Linked DNA regions of Homo sapiens: region 2 is linked to region 1. The links are contacts of gene promoters, found by promoter capture Hi-C in human tissues and cell types (Jung and others, 2019). All regions are on one chromosome and are shown on one strand. Each heading gives the region's core, a stretch centred on a gene start or on the middle of the fragment in contact. The rest is flanking DNA. Distances are from core to core; before and after follow the strand shown. Region 1 holds the start of C15orf61 (chromosome 15 open reading frame 61). Region 2 overlaps MAP2K5 (mitogen-activated protein kinase kinase 5).

Region 1 (2,796 bases), core at 111-2,610:
GACTATTTTTAACCTTAATGGACGATCAGATTATGTAATAGTATTAGTAGTACGGCTGCGCAGGGTTTAGTTTTAATCCTGGCTTTAAAAACCTGGCTGGGTAACATGGTTCATTCAGCTCCATGGCTAGATTTTGAATCACTGAAATCTAGATTGATTTTATGCCAGCTATTAGTAAGTTCAAAACATCTTGAGGCCTTCTGTTTTCCCCTGACCTATAAAAGATACACCCATGTCCATGTTCGTACCTCCCTCTTCTGTCATTAAACCAAAAGAAAATAAACACCTAGTGACAGTAAACATCCTCAGGGCGTCTCCATGAAAATATACAAATATTAAAGATCTTTAAAAATCTTTTAGGCCTAGCACCTCAGGAAGCTGTTATGTCTGGTGAAAACCTTTGGTGCTTTTAGTAAAACGAACTTGCCGGGAATTCATACAAAGAAAACAAAAGAAACTTAAAAGAGTAGTTCCAGTTATTGCAACATAAACGCAGCTGCAAAGTGATGTTCACGGGAATGAGTCCTGCCATGCAGTAGGACGGATGTCAACTTCAGAGCCACTTTCTAGGGGGCGTTTCCTGACGCCCCCTGGCTTACTGCCCAGGCCAGGGGTCTACTCTGGTTAACATGGGCAGGACAGGAGGGCGACCCGCCCCTCCCTAGGCCCGAGGACGCGCCCGCAGCAGGCGAACGGCTTCGGGTGCCAGGAGCTCAGCAAGCTGGGGACCCCCTGGGCGAGGAGTACAAAGGACCCCAGGCGAAGCCGGCGCCGGGAGGCAGAGCTGACTCCCGCGGGACTCTACCGGCCTGCGAGCGTTCGTCACGTGCTCGGTGGCTGAGGGGCCGTCCCGGCCGGGCGGGCTTCACCGCGTGGGCGCGGCAGTCGCCACTCACCGAGGTTGACGACCTTGAGCGCCGTGAAGAAGCGGTTCTGCCGGGCCAGGTCCTGCCAGGGAGCCTTGGAGCAGTGGTACTTGATGAAGGGGAAGCAGCCGGTGCGCAGGACGTGGTAGTTGGCGCCCTGCACCGGCCAGTTGAAGTGCGAGAGGCCGAACTGGTCGTTGCGGACGGCGCTGTAGGGCACGCAGAAGGAGGTCCAGTGCGGCAGGCGCCGCTGCAGCAGATGCCGCGTCAGCACCTCCGAGGCGCTGGGCTTGGGGCGGGCGGCGGCGCGCGAGGCCCACGGCCTACACAGCAGCAGGCGGAGCGCGACCTCGTGGGCCCTCCTCAGGGCCTCCATGGCCCGCCGCGCCGGGGACGCAGGCTGGTGTCCGCAGCCGCTGGCGCGCAAGCGCGCCCCCGGGCGAGCGCCGGGAAGGCCAACCGGCGCCGCGCGGGTGCCCGAGAGCCCCCGGTGTGCGGCGGCGCGTGCGCACAGCGGCCCCGTGGCCTCCCGCTGGGGGTGGAGTCCGGGGGATGGGAAGCGTGAGCTGCGCGAGGCGGAGGGTCACCTGCGTCAAGGAGCTGGTTTTGAGTGGCCAGGTGTGACCTCACGCCGTCATTAGTAACTCGGGCAGGGGAGGGATTCGGGGAGGTCTCATCAATTTGGGCCTGAGGAAAATTCAGGTGGAAGACAATTAAATAACTAACCACCTCCGCAAGGTGCAGAACTCAAACCCAAGTCTCCCTCCCACGCCCTGGGCTCCAGGGAAGCCCTTGGGTGTTGTTGTTGAAACAGGACGAGGCGTGACCCCGGGTCTGCGTTGTTTGGTAAGGCCGGGAGCACTTTTGTGTGTAGGTCCTCGCTGTCGGGTTCACTGTTTAAAATTAGTCCCAGAGATTTCAAAATCAAAAGTTTATTTAAAAACCTCACGTGTCTCAGTGCAGCGTCCGAACACACAAAGGCACCTCCCTCTAAGAACCTGGTAGACGGACCAGGAGCCTCTTATCGAGCTTTGTGGACCTCAGTCACCCATTACCAATCCATTACTTTCGGAAAAGCTTTGCTCAAACTTTGCGGCCTCTTGAGGCAGTAACTTACGGACAAAACTGCTTTTAGAAAAGGATTTCCTCTTTTGTCCTAAACTCATTTTGTTTGGAGAGGCCATACATAAACAAGATGATGTGTCTGAAACCACCTTATGTAAATGAGGTACAGTAATTACGCGTTAAGCATCATATAACAATTACTATCGTTGCTAAAAACTCAAGGGGGATGTAGGATAGTATGGCGAAATTTTATATTCCCCAGTTTTTTGTTTTGTTTTGTTTTGTTTTTTTGAGACGGAGTCTCACTCTGTTGCCCAGGCTGGAGTGCAGTGGTGCAATCTCAGCTCACTGCAACCTCTGCCTCCCAGGTTCAAGTGATTTTCCTGCCTCAGCCTCCCGAGTGGCTGGGATTACAGGCGTGCACCACCACGCCTGGCTAATTTTTGTATTTTTAATAGAGACGGGGTTTCACCATGTTGGCCAGGCTGGTCTCAAACTCATGACCTCGTGATCCACCTGCCTCGGCCTCCCAAAGTGCTGGGATTACAGGCGTGAGCCACTGCACCAGGCCTATTCCCCAGTTTTTATTGAACATTGAGCACCCACCAACATATGCCGAATCTTGAACTTTACCTTACAGAATTTGAAGTTGAACTTTACCTTATAGAACTTGAACTTTATAGAATTTCTTTTTCTTTTCTTTTTTTTAGAAAGGATCTCACTGTTGTCTAGGCTGGAGTGCAGCTGCTCGATCTCGGCTCACTGCAACTTCTGCCTCCTGGGCTCAAGAGATCCTCCCACCCTCAGCCTCCCAAGTAGCTGGGACTGCAGGTGTGTGCCACCTACACTCGGCTGCTTTTTTTGG
Region 2 (2,796 bases), core at 208-2,707, 62 kb before region 1:
TATGGGTAATAATTACAAAACACTGCAGTTGCTTTCATTTTGTATATTCCAAATATACTCAAATTTATTATGTTATTTTTCCTAGAAAATATATCTAAACCATAACAAAATGTTTTTACTTGCCTTTCTAAAATGCATTAAAATTAAGACTCAAAATCTTCTTTCCTTAAAATGGAAATTAACCTTTTGAACTACAGTCACATGCATTTGACGTCTGGTCCTTGAGGGACCATCAATACTTCCTAAGACAACACTTCAAAATATTTCCACTGAAGTAAGCAGTGCATTCATAAATTTCATTTAAACAAAGTGGCTAGCCAAGGAATCAGAGACAAACATCAACTCTTATCTCTAACCTTAACATCTGCCTCACTCCTCAATTGACTTCTCAAACTTTTATAACTGGAGATGTAAACAGCAGTCAAAAAACCCAGTAACCTCATATTTCCTAAAGTTATCGGGTCAGGAATTACTATAAAGCTAGTCAATGTTCACACTTATTAATATTTAACATATCTTTTAACAATGTAGAGGACTTAGCCATGACCTGGGAGTTACTATCCAAGGCAACTGTGCTACTTGGAATGAGGAGAACATGTTATTACATCAGAATTATGGCCAGGCATGGTGGCTCATGCCTTTCATCCCAGCACTTGGAGAAGTGGTGGTGGGAGGATTGCTTGAGCTCAGGAGTTTGACACCAGCCTGGGCAACACTGTGATACCTTGTCGCTATTAAAAAATTAAAAAAAAATGCCCAGCGTGGTGGCACATGCCTGTAGCCCCAGCTACTCAGGAGCTGAGGCGAGAGAACTGCTCCAGCCTGGGGACATAAAGGCTGCAGTGAGCACACACTGCACTCCAGCCTGGGTGATAGAGTGAGACTCTGTCTCCAAAATAAATAAATAAATAAATAAATAAGGAAACAATCATTTTCTCCTATCCTTCCTACTTGTTCAGTCTAAAGATTCTTTTTAACATGGGGCCTAACCATAAAATTTAAGATCTGAGGGCCTCTAACCAACTAGGTAGACACAGGAAATATACCCAGTATGTCTACATGTCGATTATGTAAATTTGCATAATTTCACTTATCTACATATGATAAAATGTACATTCGATGTAGACAGGTAGCAAAAAGCAAAAGACTACCAAAAACTAGAAACAATTACACCATAGCATATTAAAAAAACACAGAAATAAAAAGACAGTCTCATATTCTGAAATATTTAAATTTGGCTTAGAAAGACTATGTTTAACAATTTATTGCAGCCTAGTGGGTTTTATGCTAAGACTACATATGACAATGACATCTCATATAATTTCCTCCTTTAAGTATCCTCTCCCCATAACATACTCCTCTCCACTCCAAAACAAGCCCTCCAAACTACTCCCATGCACACTCTAATTATATTTTAATATATATGCCTTTCCATTTTAATCATATTATAATTTAAATGAAATTCTTACTCAAAGGGCATAGTAAGCACTTATAAGCTGTGTGACTCTGAAGTTACTTAACCTCTCTGAATCTCAATATTCTCATCTATAAATTGGAAACAGTAATACCTAATAGGCAGAACTATCAGGAGGATTACAGATGATGATGCGTAAAGCAATATTAATGCCTTAACAGAGCAGACATCTAAAAATGGTTGTGATTATCATGGGAAGAAGCATAATGCGATGAACAGTGAGAATGACAGGACTGCTCACAAAAGGAAAGAAAACAAACAAAACTTGAAAGAATTTGGATGAAGATAACTAAAAAAAATTTTTTAGAGACAAATGAAGACCCACAACATTGGAAGTGTGTGTGTGTGTGTGTGTGTGTGTGTGTGTTTTGAGACAATGTATTGCTCTGTCACTCAGGCTGGAGTACAGTGGCACAAACATGGCTCACTGTAGCCTCAACCTCTTGGGCTCAAGCCATCCTCCCACCTCAGCCCACCAAGTAGCTGGGACAACAGGAGTGTGCACCACGCCCGGCTAATTTTTGTATTTTTTTGGTAGAGACAGGGTTTTGACATGTTGCCCAAGCTGGTCTCAAACTCTTGAGCTCAAGCAATCCACCTGCCTCAGCTTCCCAAAGTGCTGAGATTACAGGCATGAACCACTGTGCCCTGCCTGGAAGTATATTTCTCCAGGATACTGCAATTAGGGTTTTCTATGGCAGAGCTATAATGTCAATAGAGAAATTAATGGAAATTTTCAGTTTGTAAAATACTACTCCTTGTGAAGAAAGAATTTTGAAACTTGCCCAAATTCTCCAGTCACTGCAAACATTAAGAAATAATCTGCCTCCTGGCTGGGCGTGGTGGCTCACGCCTGTAATCCCAGCACTTTGGGAGGCCGAGGGGAGTGGATCATGAGGTCAGGAGATCAAGACCATCCTGGCCAACATGGTAAAACCCTGTCTCTGCTAAAAATACAAAAATTAGCTGGGTGTGGTGACACGAGCCTGTAATCCCAGCTACTCAGGAGGCTGAGGCAGGAGAATCACTTGAACCAGGGAGTCAGAGGTTGCGGTGAGCTGAGATTGCACCACTGCACTCCAGCCTGGTGGCAGAGCGAGACTCTGTCTCGAAAAAAAAAAAAAAAAAAAAGAAATCATCTACATCCTAATCATTGGACTAATAAACAGAAATAGCAACATTTCTTTTTTTCTGTTTTGGTGCTTAATCTTCAAGTACAACAGAAGTGGATTAATCACAATCCTTGTTTTGGACTATCACTGGCCTTAAATAGCCCAACTGTACTTACTTAGCACTTCAATAAGTTACTAGTAATATACTAA

The links. The method cuts DNA at HindIII sites, captures the fragments that hold promoters and counts their contacts. A contact is called where the count stands out against the background at its distance.
Region 2: a contact is called between a fragment that was not itself captured here and the fragment with the promoter of C15orf61 in region 1, in 2 of the 25 tissues and cell types used here (liver and small bowel).

The regions. Positions count from the first base shown.
Region 1 is chr15:67,519,695-67,522,490 of GRCh38, reverse strand. It overlaps C15orf61 (chromosome 15 open reading frame 61), which reads right to left and starts at 1,360. Exons shown (of 2, transcript NM_001143936.2): 1 at 897-1,360. The coding sequence starts at 1,242. IQCH-AS1 (IQCH antisense RNA 1) reads left to right here and starts at 647. Exons shown (of 6, transcript NR_040052.1): 1 at 647-972. RefSeq lists enhancers at 934-1,053, 1,694-1,773 and a silencer at 1,164-1,513. The HindIII fragment of the contact is 11,118 bases long and covers 1-2,796 here.
Region 2 is chr15:67,581,869-67,584,664 of GRCh38, reverse strand. All of the region lies in intron 4 of MAP2K5 (mitogen-activated protein kinase kinase 5), which reads right to left. Among named protein-coding and RNA genes, the nearest start is that of MAP2K5, 41 kb to the right of the region's middle. The HindIII fragment of the contact is 7,822 bases long and covers 1-2,796 here.